Regions from separate parts of the Homo sapiens genome. Here all the other regions are linked to region 5. The links are contacts of gene promoters, found by promoter capture Hi-C in blood cells and fetal thymus (Javierre and others, 2016). All regions are on one chromosome and are shown on one strand. Each heading gives the region's core, a stretch centred on a gene start or on the middle of the fragment in contact. The rest is flanking DNA. Distances are from core to core; before and after follow the strand shown.

Region 1 (2,872 bases), core at 368-2,867, 220 kb before region 5:
GTGGTTGATATTGGAGTATGTTCCATGTGCAGATGAGAAGAATGTATATTCTGTGGTTGATGAGTGGAGTATTCTGTAGCTGTCTATTAGGTCCAATTGTTGAATTTGAGTCCAGAATTCCTTTGTCAATTGTGTATTCTGTGGTTGGTGGAGTATTCTGTAGATGTCTATTAGGTCCAAGTGTTGAATTTGAGTCCGGAATTTGTCAGTTTTCTGCCTCAATGATCTATCTAATGCTGTCAGTGGGATGTTAAAGTCCCCCACTATTATCATGTGGCTAGTTTTATACAGTTGTAACCAGGCCTTGTCATATTTTATTTTCTTCTTCTTTACTTTATGTCATAAGCAGTTTTCCATGCTACAGTACATATTCATGATTGTAGACATGTTTTAATGTGTGTCAAATAGTCTGTAGAGTTGACCATTATTTATCCAACTTGCCATTGTTTGCCATATGGAGTCTGTTTCAAAGTTAACTTTGGTGTGCCTGAAACTTATAGATCATAACTGGTTAAATAATACTCTGAGTGGCAATCTCATACCTATGTGTCCCCATATCCCTGTGAATATAACATGTTTTCTATTACAGCGTGGAATTCCTGATTGGATATTACCTCAGATTTTTAAAACCTTTTTCACATGTATAATTTTTGCTTTCCAAATAATAATATTCTTAAGAACAATGGATGAGGCATTCTAGTTTACTTATCTCCCCAGACATTAGATACTTAATACATACTTCTGAGTTCTGTAAAATCAGCTCGGCCTCAGGTTGCCTGGCTACTTGTACTGTGGATGACACAGATTTTCAGCACCCCTTACCTCAAATATCATTCTGCTTAAAATGTGTGCATGATGTGTTTGTCTCTGTTCTAAAATTAGCTGTGCTTCAGTCTTCAAGAAAGCAATTCAGATGAATCACAGATTATCAGGATAACATCAAACTACAGAAGGAAAAATGAATAATACAGGTCAAGATAAGCCCCAGAGTGCCTCCCTAAAGAACTCGATTCTAGGCCATGAGGATATTTTATTCTCCAGCTGGACTCTAAATCCTACTTTGGATGCTGATGTGTTATTCTGTTATGATTTTTCAAGGCAATGACTATGCTTTATATTTGGTTGGTAGTTTCTCTCATGGAATTCTTTAACTTTATTTTCGCCCTTGGTGAGTGCCATGTTCAAACCTGTGTCAGGTAATGCCATTCATGCAACATTACTTCGGTTTATAAGCTGGCCTGAACCATTTGCACCCTCTTTTAGTGAGTGCTTAGCTTAGAGAAAAGCTTTCCTTGGCTTGTCAAAAAAAAAAAAAATGTGCAGTGAGTGCTTAGAACATTTGTATACTGATATTATTGCCTCTGACCAGAAGCAACCTATTTCTGTAAAGGTGTCTTCGAATAAGACTATCTAACCACTCTTGCCTCCTACTCAAGAAAACGTATCCCCTCAATTATAAAATAAAAATTTCCTGGCTCGAGAACATTACTTTATTTAAAAAGCTGTGTCCATAAATTTGATATTTTCGTTGTATAGTGAGACATAAAAACATGAAGCATTTGCTTTTAAATTTTCATTTAGGTAAAATGATTTTAGATTATATACTAAAAATGGCAGAGAAGAAAATTCTGGTTGGAAAAATTGCCATTGCTGGCACAAGAAACAGAATTATTTGTCTGGATGGAACTCAATACATATTTTTAACTGATACAGAATTAGGGGTATCCTGGAATGTTCAAAAAGACTTCAGAAGATGTGGTCTTTGAGCCGAGCCTGCCTGTGTAAAATGGTAGATGAAAGGAAAAAGGACATTCCAGGCGAGAAATGAAATGTAGGCCATCTCAAGGGGGCAGAGAGAACCTGGTACTTTAGTGTGAATAATGGAGGATTAAGGAAGAAAGATAAGCTAGGGTCAAACTGTGCAGAGTCCCAAATACCAGACCATTACTTAAGCTTTATATTTTAGACAATGAGGGAAATGTTGAACATGATGCAAGTATATTCTAGAAAAATTCGTGAGTTTTAAGATGACAGTCTAAATACAGTTTTGCTCCCATCTTCCCAGCTCTTCAACTGAAATAACAAAATTTAAAAAGGAGAGCAAATCCATGACACTTACAGAAACATGAATGGGGACCAGAAATGGACAAAGTTCTGGAAGATGGAAAGGGCATAGGATTATATTGCCAGCTAAATAAGAGCAAAAATTGAAAAAGAAATAAAATAGCTAATTTAGATGAAGTAATTCAGAGAATAGAAGAAAACGTTTAATAAATATCCTTAAACAGACAAAAAGTATTGCATCCCTTAAACTTCACGGCCCCACTCCTCCCAGAAAAAAAGAGTTGCTATGAATAAGAGGTAATCAGAAAGTGCAAGAGCTTTGGCGAATTAAAAATATAATTAAATCAAAAATCAATTGGACTTAGTGTGGCTGAGAGTATCACAGGGTATAAAGCAAAAGATGAAAAGACAGAAAATACTAGAAAAGTATTAGAGAAATAGAAGAATGATCTAAATGGCCTGGCATTCTTTATGAAGAGTTTCAAGAAGACATTGAAGACAAAGAAATAAAGGCATAAAGATTCAGATTAAAAGAGGCTACTGAATGTTGACCACGATGAATTTAAAAAACCCAAACCTAGGTCCACCCTCATGAAATTTCAGAATAAAAGAGATGTTAGAGCTTGAGGGTCAGAGAGAAGAGTGATTACATACAGAAGAGTGATCACCTGAATGTTATAGACATCAATATGCAATTCTGAAGCCTCAGAAGCAGTGGAACCATGCTTTCAAAGTTCTGAGGGAAGTGATTTTGGACATTTCAACTATCAATAAAATATAAAAACAAATAGATAACTTCTAACATGAA
Region 2 (2,700 bases), core at 187-2,686, 170 kb before region 5:
GGAGCTGAAAGAATTGGGAAAACAAAAGGGTGGATGGCAGTGCAGGAATAGAATCCTTTTTCCACTTTGGCTGACACTTCACTTGCGGGAGGTTCAGGACAGTTCCCCTTCCAGGGAAAGTGAGTCCAGACTCAGAACTCTCAGGCCTAAAATCGGAAAAGCTGGCTTGTTTGGGTTCGGGGCAAACATTGGGAGCAAAGACAGCCACAGAGTGAAGTGCGCTTAGAAGTACCTTGCTGAAATTTGGAAAGAGGAAGATCGATTATAAGAATATTCCCATCAGCAGGGGTGTTAAATAGAAATTAACTATATTGATTTCATTGTTATTAATTTGAAGTAGGTATTGAAGTCTACTCATTTAATGTGTTGTTATTTTATTTTAGGAAATGGTGAAAAATTTCTTGCCTTCATTGGTTCACTTATTCTTAATCTGTCTTCTAAACTAGTTATCCCACAGGTCCCTTAACACATGGTAGCCCCTGCCACAGGGCTTGTGAGGACTACAGCTGTGTTGGCTAGCAATGGTGGAGATTTGAGTGGTATGCCTGGTAACTAAGTACCCAGAATTTTTCTAAAGCCCAGATCTGGTGCTGTTTTCATTGTTTACCTGATCATCTTAATGAACTGCTTGAAGGCAGATAGTGCCTTGACTTACCTTTGTGAGCTGAATGTCTGTTTACATTATGAAAGGACAATTGTTGTCCTTAAGTGAATGTTATCAGCAAAGACCTGGAGGAAAGTGTGATTTATTGACAAACTGCAGCAAATGACCTGCTTCCTTGTTTATATGGATTTTTAAAAAGCTGTCATTACTCTTCTACCTGTACTTCTGTTGTATATTAATTTCTCTTATGTAACCACAGAACGTTTTTACTCACTTGTGTATGGGTTATTTTTCTAAAACACAGATCTGTTTGTGTCTTTTCTGCTTTGCATTTAGATTTTTTTTAAATCATCTTGATTAAAAATTTCATCTCAATTTGGTTTGGTGCCATCTAGCATAACCCTGGGCCTCGACACCACATCCTCCATCAGTACATTGCCCGGTAATGCAGAAGCTTTCCATTACTGCCTGAAGAAGAAACCGCTAGAAAAGCCCATCAGCTGCCAAAAGTTATGCCAGTATATGATCATTTCATCAGTCCAAAATATTTTAAATTTTGAATTATTTACCCTTACTAAGATTATACATAATTTACATAGATGATTTTAAAAATTGACTACATTTAAAAAGCAAATGGTTTCGTTTAATAAATGATAGACTAAAGAAAACAGTGGAAGTTATTAACCAAAAAGTAAAAAACCTTCAATAATGGTGTACAAAGCAGTAATTATGGTCACACTATCTGAGATTCCTATGCTGTGAGATTTTTCAGATCCTTACGAGAAGACAATTTAGAGATAAGGGTGCTTCTGGGAATGGAGTGATAGATATTTATTTTTACATTTATTTCTAAATGAAACCTTCATTTAGCACTTTAAAGTAGAAAACAGATTTTTATTGCTTTCATGAGCATAAATAGGAACTCCAAACACAACTATTTCATAAAATGTAGATTTTTGTCTAAAACCTATATACTATAGATTTTGCTATTATATCTAGTCATGTTTAAAAATATTACTTCTATATCTGTAAATACCATTTTTCACTAAAAGGAATCAGGAGCGCTTGGAGAAATTACTGGTTTTAGGTCTGAGGCAAGAAATATACAAGTTGGCCTTGGAACATCTCGTCATATTGGAAAAGAAGAAGGTTATCAAAGACCACTAAGACTGTGTCAAAAGAACTTAGAGGCTAGCTTGAATAAGCTCTTGCAAGCTTTTATCAATAAAGGTATAATTTCAATGGATTGAAACATATCAAATATGTTTAAGTCCATGGATTCATAATTATACTTCAAAATATAAGAACAAAAACTTCATTGGTCATGTTTGGAGAATATTAGGGAACTACTCATCACTTTGAAAACTGGCAAATAGAGAAAAAGAGTTAGGCACCTCTCCTGCCTTTCCTCGATGACCTGTATCTCAGGGTACCTCAGGGGGAAACTTCTCTTTGTAGAATTATTCCAGCTAATAAATCAAGAATGAATAATAGAATATTTGAAGTTTTAGTGAATTATTGGATCTAGGCAAATATCAGAGCTAACAATATCATGGAAGCAGGCAGTCAGAGGTAATAGTTATCTGCCTTCTGATGGAAGTTCAAACACGGCGTGAAATAGTCTGTTTGATGCAATTGTCATATACTGGCATAACCTTTGGCAGCTGATGGGCTGTTCTATTGGTTTCTTCTTCAGGCAGTAATGGAAAGCTTTTGCATTACCAGGCAGTGTATTGATGGAGGATTAGGTGTCAAAGCCCAGAGTTGTGCTAGATGGCATCAAATCCCCGTCCCATTAGAACTTGAATAAGATCAAGGCTCTAGATGGAATTATCAGTCTGTAGGGATGCAGAGGACAGCGGAACATGTTAAACCACAGCAGTGTGATACAATGAGAAAAATCCAGAATGTGGAAACTATCAGACAACCTAGTTCCTTCAACAACAACTTTTTTTTTAATTGCAAGGAAAGATTAGAAATAGAGAAGAAACTTTATAAAGAAATTTAAAGAATGTATCAAAGAATCATAATGTATGAACCTTATATGAATCCAGATTCAAGCAATCTGAAGTTAAATTTGTATTATAATATATTGA
Region 3 (2,700 bases), core at 123-2,622, 140 kb after region 5:
GCCCAGGAAGTCAAGGCTGCAGTGAGCCATGATCATTCCACTGCACTCCAACTCGGGCAACAGAATGAGACCCTGTCTCAAAAAAAAAGAAACTTAGGTTTATAAACACTGCATGTTCTCACTTATAAGTGAGAGCTAAACATTGAGTACACATGGACACAAAGAGGGGAATAATAGACATTAGGGCCTACTTGAGTGGGGGGTCGGGGTTCAAAAACTACCCACTATGCCTATTACCTGGGTGATGAGATAATATGTACACCAAACCCCCATTCAGTTAATCTGTATAACAAGCCTCCACATGTACCCCAAAACTGAAATAAAAAATTAACAAAAATAAAAACTTTAAAATTAAAAAAAAAAGAAATTTAGATTGAGCAATAAAAAGCAATTTGCCTACAATGGAACTATGGTTTCCAAGCAAGTGGTGGATGGGTTGTATGTGTAGGAGTCCAAGTGTGGGTACACACTTGTCAACCTGAAATAATAAAAGGGTCAGAATCCAGTTTTAAAGAGTTTATTCAAACAAAAAGCTGGGAATAGCCATTCCAGGACACACAGACTCCAGAGAAATGGGATCAGTGCTCCAAAGTTAAAAGTTAAATCTTGCTAATATAGGAAGAAGACAAAGAAATTTATCAGGATTGCAACATTTTCTATACAAGGCTGGCTTAATAGTTTCAACAAATTAATTAGTTAGTTTGTTTTCTTTTCCATATAGCTTGTTTTCTTTATAGTTGGTTTTCATTTGGTTTCCAATTTAAAAGAGTGTATTTAACATTCTATCTTAAGTCAATGTGATAGTCAAGAAGTCTGTGTGTGAGAAAGGTAAGAGAAAGGTGAATCTATAATAAAGGCCAACAGTGGAGAGGGAAGGGGTCTTCCTCTTCCCTTTGGCCATATATAACATTTTACAAAACAATGCAGGTAAGGGAAAAGGCTTCATCTGTAATCAGAGAAACAGAAGGTTATAGCTCCCTAGTTTATAGGTGCCTACCATGTGACTCAGGATCAGTAATAACATTCTTCCAAGTCCTAAAATAATTTAGAGTTCTAGCAGCTTAGATTTCGAATGACTCTTTTTCACACAGTGAACAGATATGAGAGTTTGTGTGAGGGAACTAGGGGAGCTCTCTCTCCCTTAGTGGAAGACGTGAATAAAGTATCAAGTTGGGAAAACAATTAAGGAAGTGTATTAGTCTGTTTTCACGCCGCTGATAAAGACATACCTGAGACTGGCAATTTACAAAAGAAAGAGGTTTAGTTGGACTTACAGTTCCACATGGCTGGGGAGGCCTCACAATCGTGGCAGAAGGCAAAGAGGAGCAAGTCATATCTTACGTGGATGGCAGCAGGCAAGAGAAAAGAGAGCTTGTGCAGAGTAACTCCTGTTTTTAAAACCATCAGATCTAATGAGACCCATTCACTATCATGAGAACAGCATGGGGAAAGACCCGCCCCCATGCTTCAGTCATCTCCCACCGGGTCCCTCCCACAACACATGGGGATTATGGGAGCTACAAAATGAGATTTGGGTGGGGACACAAAGCCAAACCATATCAGGAAGTATCCCAAACTGAGTTCATCTTCTCTCTCCATCACCCTCAATAGGCCAAATTCCTTGCTTTGATAGTGAAACTGCTGTTAGCTCTATGTTCCAGGCAGTAAGTCTTAGGAGTCATCTTACACATTTTTCTTTCCCTTGTTTATGAAATCCAATGTGGTCTCAAAGTCAACAGACAAACCTGGGTTCACTCCCCAACTCTGCCGCAAGCTACTGTGGGTTAAGTCCTAAAATTCTCTAATCCTTATTTCCTGATTATAAAATTGGGATCATAATAATCTGAAGATTAAATGAAATAATGTAGCTAAAGCTCCCCAGGTGATTTCAGTGGGCACTTGTATTAGCTTCCTGTGGACACTGCAACAAATTATCACAAATCTGGTGGCTTAAAACAACAGAAATATATTTCCTCACAGTTCTAAAGGCCAGAAGTCAGAAACCCATTTCACTGGGCTTAAAGTGACAGCATGCAGGGCAGTCCTCCTTCTGGAGGCTCTAGAGGAGAATTCATTCCTTTCTTCCTCCAGCATTTTTTGGCTGTCAGCATTCCTTGGCTTCTGGCTGCATCACTCCAATCTTCAAGGCCAACATCTTCAAATCTCCCTCTACGTCCTTTTCATAAGGATGCATGTGGTTGCATTTAGGTCCCACCCAGATAATCCAGAATAATCTATCCATCTCAAGACCCTTAATTTAAACACATCTGCAAAGTCTCTTTTTCCAAATAAGGTAACATTGGTAAATGTGATGTAAACATTTGTAAATGTTCCAGGAATTAGGACCTGATATCGTTTGAGACCATTTTTTAACCCACCACAGCAGCCAATGGGGAGAGTCTCCATATTTGCTAAATAAAGAATTGTCTCAAAGAAAAAAAATCTTTGAGAAGACAAGCATTTGAGAGGAATTTTAACCCATGATCTGTGGCTCTTTGTGTACCCAACGTGGTAACCACTAGACACCTGTGGCTAATTACATTTAAATTTTAATTAATTAAAATTAGAAATTCAATTCCTCAGTCACACTTGCCACAGTTCAAATGCTCACTAGCCTCATGTGGCTAGTGGTTCCCATAATGGACAGCACAAGTATAGAACATTTTCATCAGCACAGAAAGCTCTAACAGACATTGCTGG
Region 4 (2,802 bases), core at 4-2,503, 150 kb before region 5:
TAAAAATTTCCAAACACTCTTTGAACCTTTCAATTTTTACATATAATTTCCTAAAAGCAGCATAGAAAAAAGGAATGTTTTTCTTAAAAAAAAAAAATTGAAGTTCAGATCAGAGTTTAAATTCCACTCTGCAATTTCTTAGCTGGGTGACTTTCTGAGCCTTGTTCCCATACCTGTAAAATATGGGAATGATAATAAAAATACTTACCTCTTAAGGATACTATGGGATTCAGAATGTTTAAAATACATATGAAAACGCTAACAGATTTTACCCAAATGTGGGTGTTTTTATGTCTTATGTTTCTTGCGTAATATATTCCATAAATTTGTTATTAGAGTAATATTTCCTTTTATCTGAAAATTTCCACTTTAAAAATGTCCATTTATTCTGATATTACTCTATGGTTGAAATCCTGGGATCTGGTGAAAATGAAATTGTCTTAGGCTTTTCATGATTTTATAGACTTAAATCATACACTCCTGAATCCTTTGAGTATGAATGTTCATTTTTGAGCTCTGCCATCTTCATACAGCCTCCCAGCTGTTCATTTTTTATTCCTGTCCTCACACTTGTCAGCTTCATTATGTCAATTTTGATGTATAACAACTGAAACCAATCTTAGGGCTGCAGGGGTACAGACAGTGTAGAAAGAATAGTTTTTTCCCCCCTACTTATTTCCAGATCATTTCAGAATCTTGTAGACCTTCACAATTGCAGCAGCACCTTGAGCTTATGGGCTCAGAGTATATCCCATCATAATTAACCTCTTAGTAGGCACAGCATCCTACAATTTGGGTTGTGTTACTTGAATGTGTTACCCTATGCTTAGCTTTTAAAGCTTATCTTTTACTTTTCTGCAGACTTGGTCTCTAGGGTCATTCTTATATTTGAGTGGCTTTAAAAAATTTTATTTATACCTCGTCAATTCTTAAAAGAATTTTTAGCAACTCTTCTCATAATATCTCTTTGGGGAGTTTGGCAACATAAGAATTTTACTGTTTACCAGCCCTTGTTGTGGTTCAACTGCTATGCAGATCTTCATTCATTAGCCAGATATTTATTGAAACCCACTTATGCCAGGTACTGTATTAAATGTTTAGATACATAGGGGACCAAGACAAATAAGGCACAAGTATTCTTGAAACTTATATTGCAGCGAGGGAAAAAATAAGCCACAAACTCTCTTAGTCTGTTTTATGCTGCTATAACAGAATACTTCAAACTGGGTAATTTATAATGAACAGTTATTTATTGTCTTCCTCTTCTGGAGGCTAAGAAGTCCAAGATCAGGGAACCAGCATCTGGCAAAGGTCTTCATGCTGCGTCATTCCATGGCAGAAATGCAAGAGACAATAGGGGAGAGAACAAGAGCCAAATTTGCCCTTTTATAACGAATTGCTTTCCCAAGAATGGCATTCATCCATTTCAGGAGGGCTGAACCCTCATGGACTGCTTACCTCTTAGTGGTCCTACCTCTTAATTACCATCACAATGGCAAATAAATTTCAACATGCATTTTGGAGGGGATATCCAAACCATAGCACCAACATAAGAGTTAATACAATGCCAACATAAGAGTTAATAAAACAGGATGAGGTGAAAAAGAGTGCTTAGAAGGCTACTTCATGTGGCATAGTAAGGGAGGACCTCTCTGAGGAGATGACATATAAGCTTTCATCTGAATGTCAAGAAGGTCACCATGTGAAGTTCTAGATGAAACTGTGTAAAGGTCCTAATTCAGGAGCAAATCTGAAGTGTTCTAGGAACAGCAAGGAAGCCAGCATGAAGGGAGCTTCCTAAAAGGAAGTTAGACAAGGGAGAAATAGACAGAGGCCTGATAACAGGGTATTTTAAGCCAGGGAAGGAATTTGGATTTTATGATAGTTTCATAGAAAACCACTGTGATATTCTTAGCAGGAGAGGGATGTGATCTGAATAAGGGTAACCGTGGCATAATGAGATAAAATTGTGTTTATTCAAAATGTACCTCACATTATTGCAAGGGTAGTTAAATGGCACAAAAGTCTGTGTATCTGTTGATGAGGAACATTCTGATTTGTGGCTGGGTAAGACTTCCAGGACACTGGCAATGATTCCTGAATATTTCAGTTTGTTGACATCTATTTTTATCTGATTAAAGAAGAAAATATAGAATTTCAAGAGCAAAAGAGGTGGTCAATAAGGCCAAATACTATTAAGAGGTTGAGTAGGATGCAGAAAGAAAAACAACTGTTTGATTTGATAGCAGAGAAGCTTTTGATGACCTTGACCAGAACATGGTGAGGTTGGAAGACAATTGAATTTGTATTAAATTGAATTGGATGTCAGATGAAACAATGAAAACAGAGACCATTTGAAGTTTTACTGTGAAGAGGAGGAGATAGTACATAGCTCAAGGATGATGTGGGATCAAGAAACTTTGGTTTTATTTTGTCAAAGTTGAATGATACTGGAGCATATTTGCAGGATTTAGGAATAACATATGCAGGAAGAATTTTGCATTGCAGGAGAGAATGAGGATAGCAGCAGGAATGACTCAGTGAGTAAGAGGAGACGTGACCCAGAGCACAAGTAGAGAGTTGAACTTTGATAGGAACTATGCAGTTTCTCAAAGAACGTGAGGTATAAATCGTCATGACCTTGGATTATGCAGTGGTTTTTGGTTATAACAACAAAAGCACAAGTGACAAAAGAATGAATAGCTAAATTGGATTTTATTGAAATATAAAACATTTTTGCTTCAAATGATACCATCAAGAAAGTGAAAAAACAGTCCACAGAATGGGAGAAAATATTTACAA
Region 5 (2,700 bases), core at 48-2,547:
ATAGCTTTGAATGCTAACGAACATTTTTCTCAAATATGTGTTTTAAGTCTTGGCTCACAAAGGAGAATTTGTTTCTATGTATGTATGTATCGCTTTGTTATTATCCTGTGTACTTTTTTAATATAACATTTTAAAAATATGTAACATTTAAACATGTAAAATGTAACGTTTTAAAAATAAATACAAATAAATGGGAAACGATTTGCAACAAACGAGTTGCTATCCTTAATAAGCAAAAAATTCTCACAAATAAAAAAGAAAAATCTTACTCCCTTAATTTTTTAAATGGGAAAAGCCATCTCTGAAGAACCATAAATGGTCAGTAAACATGAAGGGGGACTATCTTAAGCTCACAAAGTTGAAACATGAGGCATCATTTTTCACCGACTAAATAGCCAAAGAAAAATTTAAACAGTGAGACAATACCAGCAAGCTTCCACTGAAGAACGGGAAGACCCTAAGATAGGCTCCAGGAGTCTACGATACCAGTCTCCTTGAACTATGGGGACGTGGACGTCCCTGGTCACAAGTTGCCTGACTTTGGGCGATGTCTACGGCTGTAAATTTGGGATTATATAGCCACAGCACAGAACTGTTGTAAGGCTCCAGTGATACTCATAGGCAAAAGCAATATAAGTGACTGTTAGTTTTTGTTCAGCCTATTCATCCTTACATTTACTTTTGTCGGAAAAGAACTGGAATCACAGGAAAATCTGAGGTTTTTTTTTTTTTTTTTTTTTTGAGACAGAGTCTCGCTCTGTCGCCCAGGCTGGAGTGCAGCACATCTCAGTTCACTGCAAGCTCCGCCTCCCGGGTTCACGCCATTCTCCTGCCTCAGCCTCCCGAGTAGCTGGAACTACAGGCGCCCGCCAACATGCCCAGCTAAATTTTTGTATTTTTAGTAGAGACGGGGTTTCACCGTGTTAGCCAGGATGGTCTCTATCTCCTGACCTCGTGATCCGCCCGCCTCGGCCACCGCGCCCGGCCGAAAATCTGAATATTTTAATGGAAAACTGGGAGTGAGATTCGGGAATTACTTGAGACCAACAATGATGGGTGGTGCCAGGAGAAAGCCAGGGTGGGAACGGCCCAGGCGAGATGCGGGACCCTCCAGGTGCCGCCGCTCACAAGGACCCCTGACTCCTAGCGCACCCTCCCCTGGCCTTGGAGATTCCGCCGGGCTAGCGGCTACCGGGAGAAGGCGGTGGAAACTGTAGAGCCCGCGGCTCTGATTGGCTACCTCAGAGCAAGGGGCGGGGCGGCGGAGGACCCGAAGGGCGCGAGAGCGGAACACTGCGTACGCGCACTTCCGGTCTTTGTGGCTTGCAGCTCGGGGTGGGTGGCTCATTTCCTGGCCGCTCCTGGGCTTCGCGGTGAGGGACGTGGGCCCCTAGGAAGAGGGAGGTGGGGTTGGGAGCGCGCGCCGGACAGTGGAGGAGCTCCGCTCCTCGGCCTGCCCATCCCCAGGTCGCGGCCCTTTGGCCCGCGCGGCGTCTCCAAGCGACTGGGGAACTCAGAGGAGGCCAGCACTCAAACTCCTGCTTTCCAAAGGAAAACGCAGTTCCGCTGACCCCGTGACTTCGTAAATGCTGCGGTTTAACCAAGGATATAAAAATAGAAGGGCTAGTTAGTTAGTTAGTTAGTGCGGCCGGACTGGTTAAACCTTAAATTTGTAGGCTAAATATTTTAATTCATCTCTTAACGTTAACCGTAGTGTGAGGAATGAATTTTACTCATCTGTCCTGACAAACTAAGGGCATACATTCCTATCGATATCTCGCCATCCTAAAAGCAGGTCAAGTTTGGTCTGTGTCACAACATTTAATACCTATTTGTTACCATATTTTGCTTTTGAACATTTTTAGTCTTGGGATATTCTAAGCTTTTTCAGAACTGATACGGATCTCTTTGCTGCTTTTGTGTATGTGATACCTATCATGTTTTTGAACACATGGTAAGCATTTTACAGATACGTCTTGGTTCTTGGTCAATTCCTCTGTAGACTCGTTTATTCATAAGCAAAAATCTTAATGCTCAGTAAGTGCCTCAGTGTTTGTTGAAGTAATTCGGTAAACACCAAATGCGATCAAATGACAAATATCCAATATTTACATCAACTCATGTTTAATGTGAACTTTTAAAAAAACGTTATTACTGCCTTAAATGAAAATCAACATTACTTGCTTTAGATAGAAAGTAAGTAAAAATAAATGTTTAAAATCAGTATTACTAAATTCTGCCTAAATATTTTTACTCTTGGAAGTCTGATTCTGAAGCCTGTATTTTATTTAAAAGAGAGTTCTACAAGTTTTATTAATACATACATGTTAAAGATAGACTTTTCTCCTTGATACAATCAGAATTGAAAGAATTGGAAAGGAAATTTTCTCACTATGTGATTGATGTTAATGTTGCATTCACATTCTTAGGCTTCTAAAATAGTTTTTTCTAACATTAGTGGTAGGAATTCTTCATAATGGGAGACACTAATTGAGGTTAATGATTTTTAGTTTATCATCACATTATTGTTTTATTTAGTGATAGCCCCAAATCTACTCCCTTTCAATATATTACTAAAGTTACTCATCTTTCTTATTACAAGTACTTAGAGATTTTATTGATTGCTGTAAGTTAACTGCTTTTATATCCTTCAGGAAAGAAGAGATTACTCACACTCCTTCGCAAGCACAGAACCAGTTG

What was found. Contacts are between HindIII fragments. The CHiCAGO score rates a contact against its expected background, and 5 or more counts as called.
Region 1: a contact is called between a fragment that was not itself captured here and the fragment with the promoter of ZNF397 in region 5, in 11 of 17 cell types (fetal thymus, activated CD4 T cells, total CD8 T cells and 8 more). The highest score is 16.8, in fetal thymus.
Region 2: a contact is called between a fragment that was not itself captured here and the fragment with the promoter of ZNF397 in region 5, in 4 of 17 cell types (total CD8 T cells, naive CD4 T cells, naive B cells and 1 more). The highest score is 6.1, in total CD8 T cells.
Region 3: a contact is called between a fragment that was not itself captured here and the fragment with the promoter of ZNF397 in region 5, in 13 of 17 cell types (total CD8 T cells, neutrophils, naive CD4 T cells and 10 more). The highest score is 13.3, in total CD8 T cells.
Region 4: a contact is called between a fragment that was not itself captured here and the fragment with the promoter of ZNF397 in region 5, in 2 of 17 cell types (activated CD4 T cells and total CD8 T cells). The highest score is 6.2, in activated CD4 T cells.

The regions. Positions count from the first base shown.
Region 1 is chr18:35,019,250-35,022,121 of GRCh38, forward strand. It overlaps a transcript of MAPRE2 not described here. Among named protein-coding and RNA genes, the nearest start is that of MAPRE2, 21 kb to the right of the region's middle. The HindIII fragment of the contact is 667 bases long and covers 1,285-1,951 here.
Region 2 is chr18:35,066,628-35,069,327 of GRCh38, forward strand. The region is part of intron 1 of MAPRE2 (microtubule associated protein RP/EB family member 2); the gene reads left to right. Among named protein-coding and RNA genes, the nearest start is that of MAPRE2, 27 kb to the left of the region's middle. The HindIII fragment of the contact is 761 bases long and covers 1,057-1,817 here.
Region 3 is chr18:35,380,299-35,382,998 of GRCh38, forward strand. No RefSeq gene overlaps it. Among named protein-coding and RNA genes, the nearest start is that of ZNF396, 4.3 kb to the left of the region's middle. The HindIII fragment of the contact is 3,438 bases long and covers 1-2,700 here.
Region 4 is chr18:35,086,598-35,089,399 of GRCh38, forward strand. The region is part of intron 2 of MAPRE2 (microtubule associated protein RP/EB family member 2); the gene reads left to right. Among named protein-coding and RNA genes, the nearest start is that of MAPRE2, 47 kb to the left of the region's middle. The HindIII fragment of the contact is 833 bases long and covers 838-1,670 here.
Region 5 is chr18:35,239,737-35,242,436 of GRCh38, forward strand. It overlaps ZNF397 (zinc finger protein 397), which reads left to right and starts at 1,298. Exons shown (of 4, transcript NM_001135178.3): 1 at 1,298-1,373; 2 at 2,655-2,700. RefSeq lists enhancers at 980-1,089, 1,035-1,560 and a silencer at 1,350-1,479. The HindIII fragment of the contact is 1,449 bases long and covers 432-1,880 here.